2 separate regions of the Homo sapiens genome follow, and region 2 is linked to region 1. The links are contacts of gene promoters, found by promoter capture Hi-C in blood cells and fetal thymus (Javierre and others, 2016). All regions are on one chromosome and are shown on one strand. The core of a region is centred on a gene start or on the middle of the fragment in contact, and the rest is flanking DNA. Distances in the headings are between cores, read along the strand shown.

Evidence for each region. The method cuts DNA at HindIII sites, captures the fragments that hold promoters and counts their contacts. A CHiCAGO score of 5 or more calls a contact.
Region 2: a contact is called between a fragment that was not itself captured here and the fragment with the promoter of NXPH1 in region 1, in 1 of 17 cell types (endothelial precursors). The highest score is 5.7, in endothelial precursors.

Annotation. Positions count from the first base shown.
Region 1 is chr7:8,430,674-8,437,284 of GRCh38, reverse strand. NXPH1 (neurexophilin 1) reads right to left here and starts at 3,676. Exons shown (of 3, transcript NM_152745.3): 1 at 2,530-3,676; 2 at 1,518-1,681. The coding sequence starts at 1,571. RefSeq lists enhancers at 1,469-2,016, 2,017-2,564, 2,565-3,112. The HindIII fragment of the contact is 6,580 bases long and covers 1-4,992 here.
Region 2 is chr7:9,654,912-9,661,522 of GRCh38, reverse strand. All of the region lies in intron 1 of LOC105375148 (a long non-coding RNA gene), which reads right to left. The region is part of intron 3 of LOC105375145 (a long non-coding RNA gene); the gene reads left to right. Among named protein-coding and RNA genes, the nearest start is that of MGC4859, 1.1 Mb to the left of the region's middle. The HindIII fragment of the contact is 169 bases long and covers 3,890-4,058 here.

The DNA of each region.
Region 1 (6,611 bases), core at 2,427-4,926:
TACTGAACACAGGTGGGGGTGAAAATGATTGAAGATGGGAAATGGGAAGGACACTTTTTGCATTCCGCCTGCGTTCCAGCGGGTAAAGGCACAGACTTCGGTGACAGAGTCAGAAAGGCTGTTCTTTTGGATTGGCTGCCCTGGCTTTCACCTGTTTACCCCAAGGTGTCCTGTGGGCGAGGACGCTGATGCGCAGCGCCCTCTGGCGTCCGCGGCTGCTACGGTCAGGCGATAAAGGGGCAAAGACAGGCAACATTGAGGGTTCTTGGATTGAAGCTGAAATCGGTTAAATACACATTCACACACACATATATATACGTGTCACTCACATACACAGAATTCACACAACTCGCAGCTTTGCAGCCACATGCACCAGGGCAACGGCCGAGAAACGCTGTCAATTGTAGGGATGGCAATTCTTTCAGGCTTATGGGTTCTATCTAAGGCTCTTGGGATTGAGGAGCGCCAGTATCACCTCCAATCAGAGGTGTAGCCCATCAGAGAGTTCGGGCTGCTTTAGCGCACCTCACCCCTAGACAGAACATAGCGAGCCCTCGGTGCACTCCCGCAGCCCAGGATGGGCTATGGGGGTCGGGACACTGAACACAACTTCACCAGCAGGGCACAAGTGTCCCTTACCCCCATTCCCCCATTCCCACCCCAGAAGCCAGACCTGAAATATCTCATTCTCCTTGTCTCAACATGGCACAAACAGCTACCAATTCACCACAACAAAGCTCTTCAACCAGGAGCCGAGTTCCAGCAGTGTACAAAGTCCAGCCCCCCGGAAAACTCTGCTACTGAAGGACAAGGACCGCGGCTTTGTTTAGAATTCTCTCCCTGGCGACAAGGCCTACCATTCCCTAATAATGGACTAGTCACTGGAGATGGGATTTAGTTATTTGATGAAAAGGGGAGGTCGAGACGAGAGGAAGGTGGACATGTTTGCTGGAGTATCTCTGTCCTAACTCCGATTGCTTGCAGTACCCCTGATAGTTAAACTTATCCTGTCGGAACCCTTACAAGTCAAAGAAAGTTAACTGCGCTTCTTTATGTGTCTCATCTCCAAATCGGGGAAGTGGGTGGGTAGATTCACTTTTAAACTCACAGACCTGGGCAGATTTGTTCTTTCCACCACCCAACTACACCCCCACTTCCCTTCGTTTAAACTCTGTGCATGAGCTACTGAGAGTTCCTGCCTTCCACTTCTTCTCGTTGGCCCTCTATCACATAAAGCACCCCATCTCACTACCTCCTTGGGTTTAGGGTGTCTGGGGCGCCCTAGCCCCTTTCAAGAATCACGCGCAGGAGACTGGGGGATTGGAGCAGAAAATGGGGTGGGAACCCCGGAAAATCCGCAGGAATCCAGAGACCAGCTTGCCAAAGTTGCTCCAACACAGCTGCTAGGAAGCTGCTCTCACTGAACTGGCGGCGTAACCCTTCTCCCGCGTGTCCCCAGTTTCCTTGCCTCCCGGCCGGGGTAAAAATGCGAAAGCCCCGAACCTTCCAAGACTTACCAAGTAGACGGTGGGCTGCAGGAGGAAAAGCACGTACCAGCACGCAGCCTGCATTCTCCCGCGTCTCAAACTTCCTTGGCGGTGCCTTCTTTGAGTCTTTGTTCCTTCAGAAACATAGATCCACCTGACATCCACTTTACAGAGCAAGGAGCGCTCTCAGCAGCCTAGATGCAAATAAAATTAGACATCCCATGACTACGCGGGCAAGGTTAGGCTTGACAATCAAGCGGGGAAAGGGGGTCGTAGCGGGGAGTGGGGGACCAAAAAAAAAAGGGAGGGAGGGTACGAAAAATTGAAAAGCGAGTAAATCCAGCGCCTGAGACCAGCAAGCGCGCGGTCCGCAGCTGGGGAGGCGGGCGGGCGGACGAGAGGGAGGGTGAGGGGCTCCTTGCCCCCTGCGCTCCTCGGGTGCGAGTTCCCAGGCGGCGGAGCACACTGAGCCGCGTGCAGGCTGGTTCGGAGCCCAGGCTTCTCCGGCAGCGAGACCTGCCCTTGTGTTGGGTGGCCCGGCGGCTCGGACTAAAGGCGGCGGCTGGTTCTTCGCCAGCCCTGGCAGTGCTCACACACGTACACACCAGCAGAGAGAGATAGAGGGGAAAGATAAAGGGAGAGAGAGAGATTGAGCGAGGGGGGCGCGGTGAGAGGAAGAGGTAGGTAGAACTGACCGCGATTAGGTGCTAGGTACCTCAACACGTTCGGTGAAGTGGGGGTGGGGAAAGAGAATGCAATTTGCATACAGGAAAGCAGGGATCAGTTTACCCATTCGAACCCCTGGCGCACACAGAGATACCCACGAATGCTCACAGTCACATCTCTAGCACTACTTTTTTCGAGCCAAAGGGTACAGCCGGTCGCTAACTTCTAGAGAAGAAGCCTCCTCCGAGCTGTGAGGGTCACCTGCCAGGCTTGTTCTCTTTCCTAACCAGCGCCCCTCCCTGCCGTCCCTTCCTCGTGCCCACCACCCCGCTCCCAGGTGTACCCTCCGGGAACAGCGGAGGCAAAGGGTACGTACCGCACAGGACTTGGGGCGAATCCTGCGAGAAGGGACCGCTCTGGGCAGGCTCCATGGAGAAGCTACTCGGGCCTGGCGTCTCCAGCGCCCCGGACGTGCCCTCCCAGGCGCTCCGTCTCCATGCTCGAGCGCAGACGGGTCCGGCTGCCTCGTCCAGCTTTGGCGGAGTCGCCGTCCCAGTGCCCGGGTCGCGCTCAGGATTGGTTCGCGGGAGCCAAGGCTTGGCACAGTTGGATTCACGGTGCAGGAAACTTAAGAGGCAAGAGAGGGAGGGAGCAGTAGAGGAGGAAAGAGAGGAAGACAGAAAGGGAGGGAGAGCAAGAGGGAGGGAGAGAGGGGAATGCGCCGGGCTGCTGCACCGGACGGACTGGGACTGCCAGCGCTGGCACCCGGACGAACAGTCCAGGACTCTCGGCTTCCCACAGCTGCCTGAGGATGGTGGAAATGACTTAAGGGGAGGAGACTGAGCAAGTCCTCTGGACTTGAAGTGGAGAGATAAGACACTGGCCTTTCGGAAGAAAAGAGAACCACACGGCAGACGAGAGCAGTCCGAGTTTCTGAGGGAGGGGTGGGGTGGCGAGAATCTGGAGCCTGCGGCACACGGAGCAGCTGTACCTCTACCCGCGACGCTGGGAAGCCCAGGAGCCGGTCCCCAGTGGAGTCCCGGGCGCTGTCCCTGGTGCTGCCCGGCCACCCGGGGACGCTCTGGAGCGCTTTGGGTTTCCGGCGGCCGCGGTGGTCGTGGTTTCTCCGCAGAGCCGCGGCTTGGCACGCCTACCTTCCTGACACGGACAATTACTTTGGCACGTGGGTGAATGATTCCTCAAAGACTAATTAGTACCCTGTGTAAACAGATCCGGCTCTCAGGCTCTCGCGGGCTGGGCCCACAGGGACAAGTGGCTCCCGCGGTGTCTTCGGTGGCCGCAGCGCCCCCTTCCCGGGGGGCGTAGGGAAGATCGCAAAGCCCAGGGGAGTGGCGGGAAGAGCAGCCGGGAGTCGCGTAGGGCGGGGAAGGGCGCGGGAGGGTGCAGGGCGCCCCTGCCGGCCTCGAGCGCCGACGCCGGGCGCCTCCGACCTGTGGCTGCCGGGCCGGAGGCGGGGGAGCCGCAGACTGCCAGCCATTCAGCTCGAGACAGCCGAGAGGACTGGGCGACCTTGGCCTCTGGACTCCTCGCCGCCGGCTGGGCTGAGCGTGAAGGGGGAGGAGGAGGACGGGGGATGCTTCGAGCCGTCACCACCTCCCTCGCTACTGACACCTCCCACTCAACCAGCGTCTCCCAGACTCGGCCTCTGTGCTCCGACTCTGGCTGTCTCTGTCTTTCTCAGTCTCTCCCTTACTGTCCCTATTTCTCAGTATCTTTCTCACTCCCTCTCTCTCTCTGTCTCCTTCTTCTGTCATTCTTGTGGTCTGCGTCTCTGTCCCTCAGCATCTTTCTGCCTTTTTCTGCCTTTCTGTGTGTCTCACTCAGGATTTCTGACTCTAGGTCTCTGTATCTCTGTGCCTCTACCGTGTCCCTGCCATTCCCCCTCAAACCCTGTTTTGTTTTTTGTTTTTTTTCCTCCACCCTTCCAGTGCACCACCACCAGAGCAGTTTCACCAGTCTCGGGAGACAGCCAGGACCAGCTTCTTCTGGTGCTGGTGGGGTTGCCAGTGCTCCTTGAGCTTGCCCAAATTCAGGGCACAAATCGGAACCCGGAAGAGGGTATCTCTTCCCCAACCTTGCCCATTGCATCTCCAAGCCTGCCCTTCACCAGAGCCTCTCCTGGGGTGATGCACATATCCATATCAATCTGTAGGAATTGTATGGAAATTTATCTCAGGAACCTGAGTTAGTGACATCAAAATCGAATTGTGATATTTAATGAGTCTGGAATGTCCTTTCCTCAAGTGTGGCTGTGGACACTCTGGCAGGTCTGGGCCTAGATACAATGTACACTCTAGACAATAGGTCCCAGGCTGAATTCCCCTGGATGATGGAGACCACCCCTCAAACAAGGCAGTGACAATCAGCAGAGCCACCCAGTCCTGCAGCAGAGGCAAGAGGAGCCCCACTGAGACCTTCCCCTGGAATCAGATCTCCAAAGACCTCCAAATTAGATCCCCACTGTAGAACATACCTACCAGCACTTTGAGGTCTACACTCTCCCTTCCAGCTAAAAATAACTCTTTAAAGAGCAAGCTCTTCTAATCTTAAAAGTTGTACTCTGCTGCTGTGACCTCCTGGAATTCATTGGGGCATATGCAGAATAAAGCAGTGAAGCACACCTTCTAACTGTGTCTCTGAAAATCCACTTCAGAAAAAACGCACATGTACATATAGCATAATTACAATGTTTTCTTGACTATTTTCACTTACCAGCTATTTCATTTTCTTAAAAACTTTAAACTTTAAAGAAGAAAAATTAAAGTATTGGGGCACCCGTATCTGAGGCCAAATGGTCAAAGCAGGGGCAAAAAAAGCTTTGTCTAATTCCATCCTCTAGGATTCATAAGGCTATCCTAAAATTGATTCCTATTTGTACAGGAGCTCCCAGGCCTCCCAGACTGGAGTGTAGAGCTGGAGCAAATGTTGCCTGCCTCTATCTGGATTCCCAGCTACAATGCTGTCAGAGCTGAACTTCTGTCTGACCTTTGGGAAAATGAGAAAGAATCCGGCTAGCTTTGGAATATACCAAGTTCTTTTCTAAACCTTACTTTAAAAACATTCTGCTTCTAGTGCCATTTAGCCTTAAAAAAATACTGCTTGTGAAATAGAAAGATGATCAGAGACCTTAAAATGTCTGTCTGAATGGGACTGATTATTTAAGAAAAGCACCACAGGCACCTAGTAATGGGAACAGGTTTGACACTTTGTTCTATGACACAGGATGCCAAAGAGCTTTTTCTGTTAATGACCTGAGATCTTCTGCCCAGACATTCAACCTTCGCTGGATCCTATGAGATACTTGGCCTGTGATATAAAACAGTGGCGGATTGTCATTTTTCATATTTCACAGGGGTCTTCATCTCCTATAATACTCAACCAGAAAAGGATACCGAGCCACCAAGTAACACAGAAAAATGTATCGTTTCTGCTAAACCACTCCAGTTTTAATAATATAATATTGGGGGAGAAGTGGACAAGAATGGTTCATTCACCCTCCTTTTTTCCTATCATTTGCTTTATAAAGAACAATGGAGCAATAAAAGCATGATTTTCTTACATTCTTCTGTTTCAAGTAGTATCCTACTCTAAAATGCACTCTTAGAATACATGAACAGTCAGCTTCATTGAGTGAGAACAAAAGTGTGATTACCTTAAGAAGTATAGTGTTTGTACCAATTTTTACTGACTTTACTCATGCTGAAAATTCTTTCAGAAATACTGTTTCCAAACTTTGTGTGCAATGCAACTTAATACAGATATAAACTTAGTATGAATGATAACCACTGTAAAACACAACCCTCTGCATCTGCTTTTCCCCATGTCTACCTGGTCCAACCTGAAATGAACAGTACGAGAAATAATATAGATCTTTGTCTCTAAGAAATATATTTTTAAAGGGTTAAAATGGGCTGCATCAAAAGAAAATAGTGAAATTAACTTTCCTGAAAGTTAAAACCAGAAGAAATTAAACTAGAATCTTCTGACATATACTGATAGTTCTGTTAAATGTAATTATCTATTTTGGTTTGGTTCATTTGTATGATTCTCTTTTTTGGCAGGGGAGAGGGAAGGGAGAGGTTTGAATTATCTTGGGGCTGGAGAGAAGAGAGACATAAAGAGAGAGGCTGAGTTCTACAAAATTTTGTCCTAAAATGAACCTGTCTTAAACACCTTAATATCATCATATTCTACCCAAAATCCAAGTAAAAACAGAGAACTATTGTTACAAAGCATCCAGCTGTGGTCTTGCTTAAGCTTCAGGCCAAATTACATCACTTTGTACATAGTACTGCATTGTACCTATTTTTTTTCCTAATAGTGATAGAAAACTTACAAAGACTGTATCACCCTCCTGCCCTTAATTCAGTATAACCTGGCATTTGCATGTTGTGTAGTCCTGGACAAGTGCCTAAATATTCACCTGGCCTCGGTACC
Region 2 (6,611 bases), core at 2,725-5,224, 1.2 Mb before region 1:
ATACATTGGAATAAATGGGAAATATTAAGTTTTGTGTCTCATTACTTGTGAATTGATTATATTTTTGTTGCCTAGGTATACTTTTTAACCTTGAACTCACCCATTGATAAAACAGATGAAAGTTACAAATTAAATATTAGAGGAAAACAATATGATTTAAAAGCCCTTCCTAGACATCTTGTAGTGAGTGGGTTTTAAAAGGAGGCTTCTGGGATATAAAGTAAAAATGAATTTTGACAATTGATTTTTCCAATGCTTACTTCGTTTCAGCATTTCCCACTTTCCATACCCCAGTTTGTCATTGAAGCCTTTATATTCCAAGGACATTTCTGTAGAGCTAATAGGGCTCAGGACTCATGTTATTAAAACTCTGCTTGGTTTTACTTTTCACTATTGTAGTCTCTCCAGCTATGGCTGTCACTCATTAGAGCCCCAATGTGCTGCATAAGGCAATGCTTTGTAAACAAGGTACAGGGGGTCAAATGCTATGTTACCAGTGAGGAAAGCAAAGAGACAGCAGAAAATCAAAGAGATATACTGCAGGGAACAATATATGTGTCATAAAGTTTGGGGTTGTGTGGTGTTTAAATGAACTTGCTTAACATTCAAATCCCCAGAGTTTTTCACTTGGGGCATTTGCCAGTGAGACTATCGCTCATTGGCACATACTGCCTTCTCTAAAGCTTCCCCTTGTTTCCCACGAACCTAATAGTGCAGACCTAGAGCAAGGCATCCAACAAATCACAAAGCATGTCTGCATTCTGCTATGTATCAAAGTCTCTTAATATGCCAACAAAGTTCTCCAAGGTCAGGAAAGCAGTTTATCAACATTTTATATACCTTATAGCAGCAATAAATTTATTCCAGTGGAGGATCTATGAATATTTCAGATGCTCTATGAGAAAAATTCTATGTCTTTAGATAGTCTGTGTATCCCAGAATTTGGGCACAAGACACAGTCATTTTTCTCTTACCATGTTTTTATTGTTATTCAGTTCCAGTTAATGTAAAGCTATTCAGGTACTTTCTATAATATATGCTATTTAATAATATGATTTTTATTTAGAAATTAAACACTTTGATATTTTGTACATTAAATTTATTTTTTATTCATATTCTGAATATGTGCTGTATTAAACTTTTAGTTCAAGAAATAGGTTTCAAATGGTTTTCTCAAGCATCCCACAGAAAATTAATTTTCATATTTTGAGTTTTGCCTATTTGTTTTTTCCTCTTTATCACATTATAATTTATACTCAGAACAACTATAATACAGTCAGGTAAACATACATGTGCATTTGGCTTTAGAGCAGCATGATTTATAATCCTTTGGGTATATACCCAGTACTGGATGGCTGGGTCAAATGGTATTTCTAGTTCTAGATCCTTGAGGAATCGCCACACTGTATTCCACAATGGTTGAACTAGTTTACAGTCCCATCAACAGTGTAAAAGTGTTCCTGTTTCTCCACATCCTTTCCAGCACCTGTTGTTTCCGGACTTTTTAATGATCGCCATTCTAATTGGTGTGAGATGGTATCCCATTGTGGCTTTGATTTGCATTTCTCTGATGGCCAGTGATGATGAGCATTTTTTCATGTGTCTTTTGGCTGCATAAATGTCTTCTTTTGAGAAGTGTCTGTTCATAACCTTTGCCCACTTTTTGATGGGGTTGTTTGATTTTTTCTTGTAAATTTGTTTAAGTTCTTTGTAGATTCTGGATATTAGCCCTTTGTCAGATGGGTACATTGTAAATATTTTCTCCCATTCTGTAGGTTGCCTGTTCACTCTGATGGTAGTTTCTTTTGCTGTGCAGAAGCTCTTTAGTTTAATTAGATCCCATTTGTCAATTCTGGCTTTTGTTGCCATTGCTTTTGGTGTTTTAGACATGAAGTCCTTGCCCATGCCTATGTCCTGAATGGTAATGCCTAGGTTTTCTTCTAGGGTTTTTATGGTTTTAGTTCTAACATGTGAGTCTTTAATCCATCTTGAACTAATTTTTGTACAAGTAAGGAAGGGATCCAGTTTCAGCTTTCTACATATGGCTAGCCAGTTTTCCCAGCACCATTTATTAAATAGGGAATACTTTCCCCATTTCTTGTTTTTGTCAGGTTTGTCAAAGATCAGATGGTTGTAGATGTGTGGTATTATTTCTGAGGGCTCTGTTCTGTTCCAATAGTCTATATCTCTGTTTTGGTACCAGTACCATGCTGTTTTGGTTACTGTAGCCTTGTAGTATAGTTTGAAGTCAGGTAGCACAATGCCTCCAGCTTTGTTCTTTTGGCTTAGGATTGTCTTGGCAATGCTGGCTCCTTTTTGGTTCCATATGAACTTTAAAGTACTTTTTTTTCCAATTCTGTGAAGAAAGTCATTGGTAGCTTGCTGGGGATGGCATTCAATCTATAAATTACCTTGGGCAGTATGGTCATTTTAAAAGAGAATAAAATACCTAGGAATCCAACTTAGAAGGGATGTGAAGGACCTCTTCAGGTAGAACTACAAACCACTGCTCAACGAAATAAAAGAGGACACAAACAAATGGAAGAACATTCCATGCTCAGGGATAGGAAGAATCAATATCGTGGAAATTGTATTTCTTAAGTTGTTGGATCTCTATCTCATTCATCCTGTCTACCATAGGACATTAAAAATGAGTGAAAAGTATTAAAAATTATCTAAAACTCAGGTTGTAGTTGATCTACTGTCAAGAATAAAATATATATTTACCCAATAAATTTGTACAAAACAAACTCACTTGTGTAACTATTACCCTGTTCTTAAAACAGAACATTTCCAGCACACTGGAGTCTCCTTTTATGTCCTTCTTCCAATTATTATCCTTGTCTTCTCCAAAGTTAAACTGTCTTTTAAAACACTGTGTATCTTTTACCTGTTTTGGACTTTCATAAATAGAATATTGAAGTATGTATTCTTATCCATCTGGCTTCTTTCTATCAATATATTTATGTAGCTCTATTTTTAGTTGGTTTTACTGCTCTATCATATTCCATTAAATTAACATTTATTTATTGTTTGTAATGTTGATAAACATAGGTTGATTTTAGCTTCTATTGTAGATAATGCTGCTGGAAACATTTCTGTATGTGTTTCTTCAAGTACTTGTGCACATATTTCTGTGATGTATATATTAATAAATAGCGTAGAACTGCTAGGTCTTAAGGGCTACATATACTTAACCTGAAAGTCAAACATTTGTCTAAAATGATTAGAACAATTCATATTCTCATTGTTCCATGTCTTCACAGACATTTGTCTGTTAGCTATTTTGGTATAGCTGTAGTGCTATCTCATGTGGTTTCAATCTTCATTTCCTTGATTATAACAAGGTTGAGTATCTTTGTGTTTGCCATTTTGTTGTCCAATATTTTCTAGTACCTAGTCAAGTCTGTTGTGAAATTTTCTTTTTCCTTTTTTTAAACATTGATAGGTAGGTGTTTTTCATACCTTATGGATATAGGCATGTATTTCAAATATCTTCCCTTATTCTGAGTTGTCTTTTCACATTCTTTGTGATATATTTTGATGCCTAGATTGTATTAATTTTAGAGAAGTCCAATTCGATAATCTTTTTTTCATGAGAAGTATACTTTTCCTCAATACAAATCTTTTTATCCTATGGAAATGATGTTATTACATATTAGCATTACTCTTTCTCCTTCACATTCAGAACTGTGATCTACCTATAATATCAGATAAGGCAACATTTTTTAAAACATTTTTTATATATTTAGTAAAAGTTTTATTTTTCTATATTTAAGAGCCACTTTTTTGGTCATAGTTTTATGTTTGTCTGTTTCACCCTTTCTATTCCATTCTGTTGTTTACTTTGCCTATCCCCACAGCAATACTATACTTAATTATTAAAGCTTTATGATTCCTTATATTTTATAGAGCAAGTCTTCCTGCATTGTTCTTCCTCTTCCAGATTATGCCAGATATCAGCTAATTACCTCTCCGTTTCAAATTTGCCCCTCAGTACCTGCGATAATGAGTTGGATTGATGCATTTCAGTTTTGCAGTAAGCTCCATATTAAGCTTGGTCAGTAGAGGGCATGAGAGGGATTTAGGAAGAATAGTTTGATCTGGTGTACTTGCTCTTTTAAAACAAGTTTTCCAATTTTCCAGTCTGTGTCTTTTAATTGGAGCATTTAGCCCATTTACATTTAAGGTTAATATTGTTATGTGTGAATTTGATCTTGTCATCATGATGTTAGCTGGTTATTCTGCTCGTTAGTTGACGCAGTTTTTTCCTAGCATTGATGGTCTTTAAAATTTGGCATGTTTTTGCAGTGGCTGGTACTGGTTGTTCCTTTCCATGTTTAGTGCTTCCTTTAGGAGCTCCTGTAGGCAGGCCTGGTAGTGACAAAATCTCTCAGCATTTGTTTGTCTGTAAAGGATTTTATTTCTCCTTCACTTATGAAGCTTAGTTTGGCTGGATATGAAATTCTGGGTTGAAAATTCTTTTCTTTAAGAATGTTGAATATTGGCCCCCACTCTCTTCTGGCTTGTAGAGTTTCTGCCGAGAGATCAGCTGTTAGTCTGATGGGCTTCCCTTTGTGGGTAACCCGGCCTTTCTCTCTGGCTGCCCTTAACATTTTTTCCTTCATTTCAACTTTGGTGAATCTGACAATTACGTGTCTTGGAGTTGTTCTTCTCGAGGAGTATCTTTGTGGTGTTCTCTGTATTTCCTGAATTTGAATGCAAGGACTTCATGTCTAAAACACTGAAAGCAATGGCAACAAAAGCCAAAATTGACAAGTGGGATCTAATTAAACTAAAGAGCTTCTGCACAGCAAAAGAAACTACCATCAGAGTGAATAGGCAACCTACAGAATGGGAGAAAATTTTTGCAATCTACTCATCTGACAAAGGGCTAATATCCAGAATCTACAAAGAACTCACACAAATTTACAAGAAAAAAACAACCCCATCAACAAGTGGGCGAAGGATATGAACAGACACTTCTCAAAAGAAGACATTTATGCAGCCAACAGACACATGAAAAAATGCTCATCATCACTGGCCATCAGAGAAATGCAAATCAAAACCACAATGAGATACCATCTCACACCAGTTAGAATGGCACTCATTAAAAAGTCAGGAAACAACAGGTGCTGGAGAGGATGTGGAGAAATAGGAACACTTTTACACTGTTGGTGGGACTGTAAACTAGTTCAACCATTGTGGAAGTCGGTGTGGCAATTCCTCAGGGATCTAGAACTAGAAATACCATTTGACCCAGCCATCCCATTACTGGGTATATACCCAAAGGATTATAAATCATGCTGCTATAAAGACACATGCACACATATGTTTATTGCAGCACTGTTCTCAATAGTAAAGACTTGGAACCAAGCCAAATGTCCAACAATGATAGACTGGATTAAGAAAATGTGGCACATGGCCGGGCGCAGTGGCTCACGCCTGTAATCCCAGCACTTTGGGAGGCCGAGGCGGGTGGATCATGAGGTCAGGAGATCGAGACCATCCTGGCTAACAAGGTGAAACCCCGTCTCTACTAAAAATACAAAAAATTAGCCGGGCGCGGTGGCGGGCGCCTGTAGTCCCAGCTACTCGGGAGGCTGAGGCAGGAGAATGGCGTGAACCCGGGAAGCGGAGCTTGCAGTGAGCCGAGATTGCGCCACTGCAGTCCGCAGTCCGGCCTGGGCGACAGAGCGAGACTCCGTCTCAAAAAAAAAAAAAAAAAAAAAAAAAAGAAAATGTGGCACATATACACCATGGAATACCATGCAGCCATAAAAAAGGATGAGTTCATGTCCTTTGTAGGGACATGGATGAAACTGGAAACCATCATTCTCAGCAAACTATTGCAAGGACAAACAACCAAACACCACATGTTCTCACTCATAGGTGGGAATCGAACAATCAGAACACTTGGACACAGGAAGGGGAACATCACACACCAGGGCCTGTTGTGGGGTTGGGGGAGAGGAGAGGGATAGCATTAGGAGAGATACCTAACGTAAATGACGAGTTAATGGTGTAGCACACCAACATGGCACATGTTTACATATGTAACTAACCTGCACGTTGTGCACATGTACCCTAGAACTTAAAGTATAATATATATATATATAATTAAAAAAAAAAACTTTTCCTCTTTCTCCTGTGAGGCTGAAGCAGTTCATGTGAAGAACATGCAGTTGTGTACTGCCCCAGGCATGAGCTCAAAGGGGCCAATCCTTAAGCAAACTCTCCATCCCAGCCTGACCTTGCCGTGGCTTTCCTGACCTATATACCATGCGCTCCAAACCTCATGTCTCCCTGTTTGCACACAGACTCTTGACTTCCTCTGCACACATTCCCTTTAGGTTCCCGATGACTTCTGGGCACCCAACCGCCATACTTGGCTACCTACACTCCCTTGAGTTGTCTCCTGTAGAGCTGAGTGCAGTCACTGCATATTTTATATCTCATGCTGGCCTGCCAATGAGTGGGCTCACACATACTGAGCTCTCTGCATATTCTCACATCAGCCTTCTCCATGTGCACCTCAATACCCTCTACACTCCTGTCTGACAGCTTCAGTGTACATTTACTCCAGAGTGGACATAAGCTGTCCACTTATT